Regions from separate parts of the Homo sapiens genome. Here region 2 is linked to region 1. Evidence: promoter capture Hi-C in human tissues and cell types (Jung and others, 2019). All regions are on one chromosome and are shown on one strand. The core of a region is centred on a gene start or on the middle of the fragment in contact, and the rest is flanking DNA. Distances in the headings are between cores, read along the strand shown. Region 1 holds the start of IL12A (interleukin 12A). Region 2 overlaps IQCJ-SCHIP1 (IQCJ-SCHIP1 readthrough).

Evidence for each region. Contacts are between HindIII fragments. The study calls those that stand out against the background at their distance.
Region 2: a fragment that was not itself captured here is called in contact with the fragment with the promoter of IL12A in region 1 in 1 of the 25 tissues and cell types used here (aorta).

What each region holds. Positions count from the first base shown.
Region 1 is chr3:159,984,114-159,990,086 of GRCh38, reverse strand. It overlaps IL12A (interleukin 12A), which reads right to left and starts at 1,252. Exons shown (of 7, transcript NM_001397992.1): 1 at 913-1,252. The coding sequence starts at 928. It overlaps IL12A-AS1 (IL12A antisense RNA 1), which reads left to right. Exons shown (of 10, transcript NR_108088.1): 9 at 794-990. RefSeq lists enhancers at 992-1,041, 541-1,041, 1,042-1,542, 2,394-3,593 and silencers at 1,162-1,211, 1,282-1,481. The HindIII fragment of the contact is 7,471 bases long and covers 1-5,026 here.
Region 2 is chr3:159,620,766-159,627,475 of GRCh38, reverse strand. The region is part of intron 4 of IQCJ-SCHIP1 (IQCJ-SCHIP1 readthrough); the gene reads right to left. All of the region lies in intron 1 of SCHIP1 (schwannomin interacting protein 1), which reads right to left. Among named protein-coding and RNA genes, the nearest start is that of IQCJ-SCHIP1-AS1, 140 kb to the left of the region's middle. The HindIII fragment of the contact is 3,214 bases long and covers 40-3,253 here.

The sequences.
Region 1 (5,973 bases), core at 3-2,502:
CACCCATCCATTCATGCTTGGCACCCACCTCCCTCAACCCATTTCCAACACTTTTCCTTCAACACCTGAGAGATGACTCGAGTTATTACAAAGCGCCACTCTATTCTAGGGCTAGAAGCCAGCTCCCTGTGAGGGTCTAGAGATGAGCTTGGACAAGGGTGTTGAACCCAACACTCACCCAGAGAAAGCCTACATGTTTTTGATCAGGGAAACCCAGACCAGGTGGTGAAGTGGCTGAGTCAGACTTGGGACCCAGTGTTTTAAAAACAGTGGAGTGAGAAAGCCTGACTTTTTTTGTTTTTTTAAGACGGAGTCTCACTCTGTGGCCCAGACTGGAGTGCAGTGGCACGATTTTGGCTCACTGCAACCTCCACCTCCGAGTTCAAGCAATTTTCCCTGCCTTAGACTCCCGAGTAGATGGGATTACAGGCACCCACCACCACACTCGGCTAATTTGTGTATTTGTTAGTAGAGACGGGGTTTCACCATGTTGGTCAGGCTGGTCTTGAACTCCTGACCTCAGGAGATCTGTCCGCCTTGGCCTCCCAAAGTGCTGGGATTACAGGCGTGAGCCATTGCACCCGGCCAAGCCTGACTTTAGAACTGGCTAGGATCTGCCTTCTGTTTGTAGCTGAGGGACCCTAGGCAGGAAAGCAGGAAATCTCCCACGCTGGGCCTCAGTTTCTCCTCTACGAAGTGGGCATAATGATAGCTCATCAGGCTGTTTCGAGATGAAAAGAGACATGCCCTATTTAGCACACGGTGAGACCCCTATTCTTATTCCTCTTTGCAGGAGACGGCTGCTGCTGTTCCAGTCTCTCCTTAGGCAGACTTGAGTTTCTACCCACTCTTCCCAAGCAGCCGCCCCTCCGCACCCGAGCGAGCCAAAGACCTGGCGGGCTGAGTACTCACTGCGCGCTGGACACATGCTGAGCCGGCACTGCAGGGACACAGGGCGAGCCGCTGGATGCAGACCTGTGGCCGCGGCAGGTGAGGGCGGTGGCTGGGAGGCTGACCCAGGGGGCCACATTTTTATAATTGTCCCGAGGCGCGGCAGGACTTTCCCGGGACTCTGGTCTCTTGCTTTCTGTCTCCTTCTGTGTCTCTCTCTACATCAGCTTCTCGGTGACACGTGCGGTGCGGCCGGCCCGCGGGGCTTGCGGCGCTTTCGGATTAACTCCCGGGGTGCCCGGCCGCAGCCGTTCCGGGACGGCCCCGCCGCCTCCAGCTCGGCCCAAAATGAAAGCGAAATGTTCGCAGTTACTGCGCGGGGTCCACAGGCGGGCGGGACACCCCGCCCACCACCCTGGGTCCCCGGCCTTAGCCGGACGCCCCGTGTCTAAGCTACCCCGCCCCGCAGCTGTGCAGCGCCCCCTGCCGACGTAGAGAGAGGAGTGCCTCCCACTTTGCATGTCCTGCGTAGGGATGGGCCCTAACCACGACCTCCAGCCTAGTACTGGAAGGGGTAGGCAAATCATTCACTCATCATCGTTCCTTTAGATGGCTCACTAGATGCCAGGCCGACGTTGCACCAGGTGCAGGACACCCAGGGAGAACAGGACCCTTGGGGCATTGCCACACTAAATCAGACTCAAGGCGTTTTGTTCACAGGTCTTTTCTGAAACCTGAAAAGGGATGAGAGCTGGCTGACTCTGCAATTATTACTCTTGTAGAGAATCCAGTTTAACGATAGGATGAATACACAGAGTCCTGGGAGGAAAGACCTAGAGAAAGAGCCCACGCTCAGCCGGAGCAACGGGGTCCAGGAGTCAGCAAAGGCTCCCGGGAGCAGGCAGGGGCCCCAACCTGAGTGTTAAAAACAAGCAGGCATTAGACCGCTTCCAGCGGGAGGGCACGCAGGGTCTAGCCAGGGGAAACAGGGATCAGAAGCGCAGTCATGAAGGGTTGAGGGAGGTGGGGGTCTAGGTGTCCTTGCAGGGTGTGAGGCTGGAGGGCTGGATGGGGCCATGCCATGAGGGCAGGGGATGCCATACTAAGGAGTGTACTTTCTGTGCTGAGAGTAGTGGGGAGTCTTCCTGGGTTTTAGGCGGGAGATGTGGCAGAATTTGCATGATGGGGGGATCCCTTCAGCCACAGCATGAAGGATGGATCCAGGGGTCAGGAGTAGAGCAGAGGGAAGAGTTGACAAGGTGTGGCCAAGTCCTTATTCAGTATGGAGAACACAGGGTGGGCAGGAGGGACTCTCAGAGGGCTTGTGGGCCAAGGCTTGGTAGCTCCTCAGGTGAGCGGGAGAGGAAGGCCCTGAGAATGGGGAATGGAGATTGTTCTAGCTTTACAGGGATTACTGTATAAGAGGACTGAGTTTGGAGGAGATGGTGAGAAGTTCCATTTTGGATGTGCTGGGTTTGAGGTTCCTGTGGGACTTTTTAGTTCAGTTGTTTTTCCCACAGGCATTAGTCACCCTAGGCGTGGGTAGTGGGGAGGATGTGTTTGATCTCTGACTTGGAGCTTCCAAAGGGCCTGACTACACCCAGGCCCTAGGACCTAATAACTGGAGCTGCCTTCTGGGTGGCTCATCTGCTCGAAGCTGATGAAGCACGGCTGTAGGGAGTTTTAGGTGTGTGTAAAATAAGAGAAATGGTTGATCTCTAAGGCCCCTTCTAATGCTGCTGTCTGAGAATTCCCCCACGGGATACAGAGTAATCCATTGTCAGAAACAATTGCGTTTAGCAGTTTGTCTAGAGCAAATGACAGGTGCAGAGCTGTGTTGTGGCCACAAGGGTTTAGTGTGGAGTTAAATGTACTTAAAGTCAGGATGAAGACAAGTGTATCACAACTGAGCTGTTTCTCCCCTGGAAGGGCCATCTCCTATACAAAAGTAATTTCTGTTGCTTAGATGAGCACAGGGCCACTGTTAAAAATGGATTATTGGCTACCAGACACAGTTTCTAATTTACATTTTTGTGAAATAGTTTCCTGAAGTGCTCCATGTCCTCTAGCTAAGATGAAATGAAAACCTTCTTCTAGGAATACATGATTTTTCTATAAGTGACAGTCTTAGCTCACAATCACTACTTCACAGTGTGTAGCATTGTCGTGGAGGTCTCGGCCAATGCTATAAGGAAAGAAAAAGAAATGAGAGCTTTAAACATTGGAAAAGAAAAGGTAAAACTGTCACTTTTTACAGTTGATATACAAAAAGAAAAAAAATTAATAGACTATTAGAACTAAGAAGAGAATTTAACAACATCATGCAATACACATATCAACTTAAAAAAAATCAGCCGATTTTCTTTGTATCTGCAACAATCCATCAGAAAATGTAATAAAAACAAGATGACATGCATAGAAGCAGCCAAACTATAAAGTAACTGACTGTAGATACAGAGGCAGTATAATGGCTAAGAGTATGGACTAAACTATGTTAATCCAGGTTCTGCTACTTACTTGCTGTGTGTTCTTAGGTGAGTTATTTATCTCTCTGGGCTCAGTTTCCTCATCTGTTAAATGATGATAATAAAAGTACCTACAGTATAGAGTTATTATGATTATTACATGAGCTTGGATAACTACAGAATAGTGTTTGGAGAAAAATTTTAAAGTTCAGTCAAGAATATAGTGTGATTTAATTAAATAATTCTATACCCTTGGGTGGAAGGTTTCTCTATATAGAAAGCTTAAGCCTCTTTTCGTTAATTCACATGCTCAATGTAATTCCAATACAAGCTACAAATAAATTTTCTCAGAAACTTAATAATAAGCCTACTCTAAAATACAGATGTAATAAAATCTATGACTAAGTTAAAAAAATTTTTTTTGAGACATGGTTTTACTGTATCACCCAGGCTGGAGTGTAGTGGTGGCACAGTCACAGCTCACTGCAGCCTTGACCTCCTGGGCTAAAGTGATCCTCCCACTTCAGCCTCCTGAGTAGCTTGGACCACAGGCAACACCATCATGTCCAGCTAATTTTTATTTTTGTATTTTGTAGAGACGGAGTCTAGTTTTGTTGCCTAGGCTGGTCTCAAACTCCTGGGCTCAAGTGATCCACCCACCTTGGCCTCCCAAAGTGCTGGGATTACAGGCGTGAGCTGCTGTTCCTGGCCTTAAGTAAAAATGCTAAGGGAATAATGAAAAGGGGGACTAACCCTATCACATATGGACATAATTTAAAGCCATAGAAATTAAAGTAGTGATCTTTGCAACAGATCAGGCATATGGACCATTGAAACAGAGTAGAGAAATTATAGATAGATTTGTATATTTGGGTATTAAGTATAAGATAATACAGATGATTCCCTGATCAATGAGGAAAACATGCAATATTTAGTAGAAAATACTCAATGGGCTGGGCATAATGGCTCACACCTGTAATCCCAGCACTTTGGGAGGTCAAGGCAGGAGAATTGCTTGAGGTCAGTAGTTCAAGGCCAGTCTGAGCAAAAACTCCCTACAAAAAATTTTTTTAAAAAGAGAAAATGTTCAGCGTATGATGAAAAATAAAACTGGACTCCAATCTAAAACAACAGAGGTGAATCCATTTGGAAGTGAATTAAAGACCAAATGTGAAAAGTAAAATTGTTACAGTAGTAGAAGAAAATATAGAGGACTGTCTTTGTCACTTATAAGTGGGAAGGACTTTTTTAAAACTTCTAAAGCTCCAAACCATAAGGCAAAATACCTATCAATTGGATTACATAAAAATGAAGATTTCTGTTTTACACATTTCCTCTATGCATGAACCAAATGAACAGACAGCTGACAGATTGAGAGAAGATATTTTTCAGTGTCTAAAACCAATATTTTCAATGTCTAAAAACAAGGAACTCTTGTAAGTCAGCAAGAAAAAGACAGAAACACTAGTAAAAAATGCGTAAAGCTCATGAATAAGCAATTTAACGAGAAGAAACCCCAAAGACTAATGAGCATACCTGGAGGCTCAGTTATATCAGAAAATGCAAATGAAAAAAAGAATGAGATATCTCTTTACACCTCTTAGACTGACAAGTTGAGAACACTGGATACTGGTAAGTGTTGGGAAAATGGGGGACTACAGGATCTATTATATCACACCATGCCAGTAGGCTGACATGGCTGTTTTGAAGGGTATTCTGGCATTCCTTGACCAGATTAAGTATATTCACACCCATGACCCAGCTGTTAACCCTGGGTGTATATCCTATGGAGATTCTCATACAGGTCCACAAAGGAACATGTATGAGGATGTTCATTAAGTCATTGTTTGTAGTGATGGGGAACTGGAGGCAATGTAGCTGCTCATTACTGGGGGAGTGGGTGAGTGGAATGTAGGGATCCACTTCATGGAGTATTCTACGGCAGTTAGAAGTAATAGACTAGATGTACATGCAGTAACATGGATATGTATTAAAAATATAATACTGAGTAAAAACAGGAAAACAGAGTAAGATCTCTCTCTATAATGTATAAGTAGACAATTAAAACCCTTTGGGGCTGGGCACAGTGGCTCATGCCTGTAATCCAAGCACTTTGGGAAGCCAAGGAAAGTGGATTGCTTGAACCCAGGAGTTTGAGACCAGCCTGGGCAACATAGGGATTCCCCATCTCCACAAAAAATACAAAAATTAGTCAGGCATGGTGGCACATGCCTGTACTCCCACCTACCAAGTAGGCTGAGGTGGGAGGATCACCTGAGCCCGGAAGGTCAAGGCTATAGTGAGCCATGATTGTGTCACTGTACTCTAACCTGGGCAACAGAGTGAGACCCTGTCTCACTTAAAAGAAAAGAAAAAGGAAAGAAAGAAAAAGAAAAAAATGGGGGGGCTCAGATTTGTTTTTGGAATTCAAAATGCTTGGAATTTAGAAAAGGAAGAGGTGGCATCGCATAATCAAGCATAATAGTTCCGCAGCAAAACATAGGAATAGTTACATTGAGTGGCTAAAGAACCCCAAGTAACCCCTTGTCGCTTCAGTCAGATTTCGCTGTTAAGAATTTAAGAGAAAACTTCTGGTGTCCAGAGCTGTGTAAGTTTA
Region 2 (6,710 bases), core at 397-2,896, 360 kb after region 1:
TAGTACTTCCCTCATAGGGTGAGGATTAAATGAGGTAATTTGCTGAGAATAGTGTCTGGCAGACAGCCAGTGCCAAGTAAATGTTGTTTTCCTGTCTTTTCTCTGCCTGGGGCCATTCCTGTGGATAAAATATATTTGCCTCACCATGCAGTTTGAGAGAAAATAAAATATTTAAATAAATCTTTTACGGATAACTTAGAAGATTCTCTGCTACCATAGTGGCGTGGAGAAGTCCATGGTCTATAATTTCACTAATAATTACAAAAATGCCACAGTCTTTGCGGGGACATGGATGAAGCTGAAAACCATCATTCTCAGCAAACTAACACAGGAACAGAAAACCAAACAGTGCATGTTCTCATGCATAAGTGGGAGTTGAACAATGAGAACACATGGACACAGGGAGTGGAACAACACACACCGGGGCCCGTCGGGGTGGGGGCAAAGGGAGGGAGAGCATTAGAACAAATACCTAATGCACGTGGGGTTTAAAACCTAGATGATGGGTTGATAGCTGCAGCAAACCACCATGGCACATGTATAGCTATGTAAAAAACCTGCACATTCTGCACTTGTATCCCAGAACTTAAAAGCCTCAGTCAAATGGCAGCTGACTGGCAATATAATACTGTTTTGTCTAGGACACTTGCCAATCCCAATGCATGTACAAAAGGGAGGACAGGAATGCAATCTAGGAGACCAGCTTCTTCAGGGACTGCATCAGGGGACAACAAACCACACAACAGCCTGTAGAATCCTCACATGAGAAGGATACTTCTCACAACTGAATGGTCTTGTTAGTCTGGCCTGAATGTGAAAAAGCAAACTACTATCTACACCAGGCAAACTGTTATGTTTGCTAAGCTTTGTTTGGTGGATAAATTTTTTAACCTCTTGAGTTTACTATCACATTATATAATATAATGGGTCATTCATGCCCCAGACGACCCTTGTTGGACCACTGATAGAGAGCCACTAGTATAGAAACTGGTGACATCATGTCTGATTAGATCCTTCAAGAAACATGGGCAGGAAGGACTCCAGGTACCATCTGAGACAGTGGCTGTAAGTGATATAGCCCCTGAGGTGAAGGAAGATAGACTCCACAAGCCCTCATTCCCAAAGTAAATAACTTGCTTCCTTTTCTTTTGTTCTTTGGTTAAGGTAAAAAAAAATCTATCTATCTATCTATCTATCTATCTATCTATCTATCTATCTATCTATATAGATAGATAGATATATCTAGATATATATATATCTAGATATATCTATCTATCTATCTATCTATCTATCTAGATAGATAGATATATCTAGATATATATATATATCTAGATATATCTATCTATCTATCTATCTATCTATCTATCTATCTATCTATCTATCTATATAAGCTGCACTCTAGAGTGGGGAAGCCTTCAGTCTTAGTTTTAGAAGGTGCCACAAGTTTAGTATAGAGCAACTACCATCGCTGTTCATGTCAAATCCTCCTGAGGGGAAAGCTGCTGTTGACCCAGTATTGGTTTAACAGCATCTTTTTCCTATTCCACCAGACAGCCCTGTATTTGCTAGCTGGGTTCTTCTCTGTCCTCTACATGTAGGGAGAAGCACAGTTGATCTACGTATTAACTTGCTGAGACATAGGGAGGGTAATACAGAAGGGAGGGAAGCCGTGAAGCTTGAGTGTGAAGGATGAGTTTACTCTAGAGGCAGGTGGGTGGGGATAAGTTGGGAGTTAAGGAGAAAGGCTTTGGAGAAGCTGTGGGTTGGAACAGTGGTGTGCAGACAAACCAGCTTTCTGGAAACAAAAAAGAGCCCATTTGTAGCCTTTGCCCAGTTCCATGGTGTAAGAATTCCAACTACGGCTGATTGCAAACTACTAACGTGAAGCAAACTCGCTAGAAAAATTTAGTGCAACATTAGGTAGGAGGGAAATAAAGAGAAGAGAAAAAAGATTTAGTATTTTAATCATTTTAATATTCTTTGAGAAAGAGGACAGAACAATGCTGTTACTTTGGGCTCTTGAGGTACGTATTTGAAATGTAATGCTATTCGAACTGGTCCCCATAAGCTTCCTGGTTAATAAGGGTGACTCTCAGACCAAAAGAGAGAAACAGGACTTAAGTAGCTGAACACTTATTATGTGTGGGCTGTTTCACAAGCTTTATGCCATTTATGCCTCCCAAAACCCCTAGGAGGCAGGTGTGATTGGTATTATTTTACAGATGAGGAAATGCAGATTCAGAGATTCAAAGTGAGGCCATAGGGTTAGGAAGTGGGAGATTTAGGAGGTGGACCTGGTTTCTCTAGCTCCAAGGGCCAAGGTTTTATCAGCACACTGCGCTGCACAGACCCCTGGTTCCACAGACCCAAGGCAAAGGTGATTGAGTTGTCTTAAGTCTGTTGTTTGTTGCTTTTCCTCAAAAGACCACTGTTCTCATGTTCTTGTTTTCTCTAACTGCCTCTTCCTTTCCTGTAGTGGCTCCTTTTATTCCAAAATTCAATATATAATGCTGGTTCAAGTGCATTGCAAACTTTCATCTCAGTGTGAGGGTTTTAGAGGGTATAAACCTTGCACACAAGGGAAGCTACAAGTTTAGGCTCAGGCTATCCAGGGAGATTGCCAAAGCCAAAAATCCCAAACAAGTCCCTCAGGTGCTGTGACTCACAACCTTTTCGTTGGAAGGCTCTTCTAGTTCTTCCTTGGGGCCCTGGATCTCTGGGTCATGGTGGTTCTTATTAGCTTAGCTCAAGATTGCTTCCTTAGCCCAAATTTAGCTATTATTTGTAGCTGCCCTTTCAATCTCCAGCCAAGTAGATGCCTATCTGCCTTCCACCCCCAATCTCCACGGCCTTAGGTGTCACTCGTTAAGTGGGTGAGTCGATAATCCATGAATTTTGGGTAAAACACACACCTCTAGGCCCAGTTATTATTCCATCTTCTAGCTTCTTGTTCTCTGCATGGTTTCTCCCTAATTACCCTGCATTTCTCCACCTCTAGGATTTGTCTGTCCTGGACACAGATCACCTCCATGCTGGGAGAATATTATACCTTTGCCCGTTAAAGGCAATCACTGAGTTGTCCAGAGGAAGCCTGATAGACTTTAATGTAAAAATGTTAGAAGTACCTGGATGAGTACTTGGAAAGCTGGAGAGTACAGGTCTATTAAAGTATGGTCTTGGCGTCACAGGTTACTTTGATTCCATTTAACAGTGAATTTATTTTCAAATCTCATGTTCTTGATCTGGAATATGGAACTATTAATGGAACATATTTTAGAGGGTTGCTGTGAGGATCAAATGTGATAATGCATATCTAATTGTGCTAATGCTTAGCACAATTCCTGGGCCAATAAAGAGTAACCATTATATATTTTTTTAATTTTGCACTATACATATTTCACAAGATACCTTTGCCATATGAAATAGTAACAATTTGTTCTTTGATTGACTAGTTATACATTAACTTGGAAACATCAGATTTCTGCCTTGTAGGAGAATCTTGTCCCTCCTATAATCAAGAGGCTTAGACTCAGGTGGAAGGCAGTGGGAGTAGGGAACACCTTTTATCATGGACTTAGCATTCCCAAGTTGTCTACTTTTGTGAGAGAAAGAAAACGTGGGGTATGGGCAAAATAGAGATTCTTTTTAAATTAAGGCAGAGCTTAAATGTGATCCTAGGGTTTTATGGGGTACACTACATTCTCTCTGCAGGATTCTTTTACCCAAAATCTTCCAAATTTTATACAAGTACCCTACAGCCTGCACCTGAACATTTACTTTTCCTACTAAAGGTAATGTAAGAAGCAGTTTCCATGTAAAGTGGAAAACTCTTTGTTTATTTATTTATTTAGAGATGGAGTCTCACTCTGTCACCCAGGTTGGAGTGCAGTGGCACGATCTCAGCTCACTGCAACCTCTGCCTCCCAGGTTCAAGCAATTCTCTTGCCTCAGCCTCCTTGGTAGCTGGGATTACAGGCATGCGCCACCATGCCCGGCTAATTTTTGTGTTTTTAGTAGAGACGTGGTTTCACCATGTTGACCAAGCTGGTCTCGAACTCCTAACCTCAGGTGATCCGCCTCCCTCAGCCTCCCAAGTAAAACTGTTTATTACTTTTCTTGTTATTCAAACAACATTATAACAACTTTAAACACACAGAAGAGGTATATACTTCTCAAGTTTCCCATTCCTATGAAAAATTTTCTCCCCACTTTAAAAATATTTCCTTTCAGGTCTTGTCTATATACATTTATTTTTTCCACAATTATATCTATAGTATAAATACAATTTTGCAGTTTACTTTTTAAAACACTTATGCCTACTTGATGAGCATTTTCAAGTCTATTAAGCTTGTAAGTCTATTTCTGTTGCCTGAGGATCATTCATTTAAGAGAATTAACTATGGTTCAATCAATGTTTTTCTAATGGAAGGTATTCAGTCTGTTGCCAATCCTGCAGATGACACTACAACAAACATTTTTGAATATATATATTTGTGTATGCACACCTATCTATGCACATATGTTTCCTCCATGTAAATTATTTTCTTTTTATTTTTTTGAGACAGAGTCTTACTCTGTCTCCCAGGCTGGAGTGCAGTGGCACAATCTCTGCTCACTGCAAGCTCCGCCTCCCGGGTTTATGCCATTCTCCTGCCTCTGCCTGCCTAGTAGCTAGGACTACTGGGCCCACCATCATGCCCGGCTAATTTTTTTGTATTTTTAGTAGAGACGGGGTTTCACTGTGTGAGCCAGGATGGGCTCGATCTCCTGACCTCGTGATCCACCCGCCTCGGCCTCCCAAAGTGCTGGGATTACAGGTGTGAGCCACCATGCCCGGCTGTAAATTATTTCTTTACAAAAGATTATTGTAATTTGTATTATTAAGGGGAACATTTGTATAGAGGCCAATATTTTTGAGCATTCACTTGTAAGGATTAATGAAATTGCAAAGGTCCTTACGATCTTGAGATAAAAAGAACTCTAGTGATACTGTAAACCTAGTATATTACTCCATGAAATAAAGCTATGTTCAGCTTCTGGGAAAATTCATCAGAAACAAATAGCATTTCTTTTCAGATCATGTATCTTTTATGCCTACAGATGCTATTTGTTTATATAATTATCTTAGTTGAAATTGGAAGAGCCCTTTAACCCAGAGTGTAACTATTCCTGGCAGTCAGATGTGTTGACATTGCTGTCTTGGACTTGCACCTCACATGGCCCCATTCGTTTCTGGTCAGCTGTGCCCCTGCCTGTGTGTTCTGGTGGCACCTTGCCTGCTTAGGAAACATGATGTCAGCTTGCTAGGTTCAAGCCTGAAGCAAAGTAGGTTCTGGGAAGCCTGACTGAAAACAGAGCTGCTTTGGAATTGCCTTGTGAATCTCTGGAACTATTTACACCTTCACTTCTGTGATAAAAAGGGATGCCGCTGTGTTGAAGGGAAAGGGTTAGAGGTTTTGCCAGGGGCCTTGTGGCTTGGAGACAGATGCCTTATTAAAACATACATGCAGGGCTGAGCACAGTGGCTCACGCCTGTAATCCCAGCACTTTGGGAGGCCGAGGCAGGCAGATCACCTAAGGTCAGAAGTTTGAGATCAGCCTGGCCAACCTGGTGAAACCCCGTCTCTACTAACAATACAAAAATTAGCCAGGCATGATGATGGGCACCTGTAATCCAAGCTACTAGGGAGGCTGAGGCAGGAGAAACACTTGAAGCCAGGAGGCGGAGATTGCAGTGGGACGAGATCATACCATTGTACTCCAACCTGGGTGACAAGACTGAAACTCTGTCTCAAAAAAAAAACAAAGAACAAAAACAACAACAACAAAAAAACCACACACACATGCACACCCATTCTGCTTCAGCTGCCTTTAAAAAAAGAAGCATATATAGTTGTTATATTATTAGAAAATGAAAGGATTAGCAGCCTCATTGGGGAACACAATGGTTTCACTCCAAGTTGGCTTTACTGTAGGCACTGGAGATGCAAATGAATACTGTGAGATAAAGAGTTGGAGATATTTGAGTTATATCAGAATTGCAAAGATTAAAAACTGTTAGTGGCTATGAAGAACTTGTCTGTCCTTCAGAAGCCCTGAGTTTCTTCAGCTAAGTATTCAGAAAAAGAAGCGGTCTTTAATGTTAGCTTGAAATTGTTGAATTTCCTCCCATTATGGTACTTACAGTATACTTGGCATATACAGAGTTGGTGCTTCTTTGAAACATGTACAAGTCTTGCAGATTCCTGTCCACTCATCAACTTACTATTCTTCCCAGCTTTCTGCATCCCAGGAACCTGCAGGGTTTTAGGTGAACACGGGAGCACACCTGACAGTGATATGGTACCACATCAACAGTGTTTCTCATCACATAGCCTGCCGCTGATTTCCTTCCCATCATAGTGAGTAATAGATGACTCAGTCGGGATGTCAGAAAGGTGCTGGGCATTTGCTTACTTATAAAAGGCATGTTGAAATGTTATATTTTTAGATGCTTAACATATTTGTGCAAATACCAGAAAATACAAACTTAGAGCTACAATCCGACTGTCAGGCTAATTCCATGATTAGGTAGTTTAAGGGATGCCATGAGAAGAATAATTAAAACAATTTTTAAAAAAAGCCTGAAGCTATATTCAAGGAAAAGAAAAGGCTTTGCTCATGATCCTCCATGGTTCTGTTAGTTTTTCTGACATGGTCAACTGATCTCT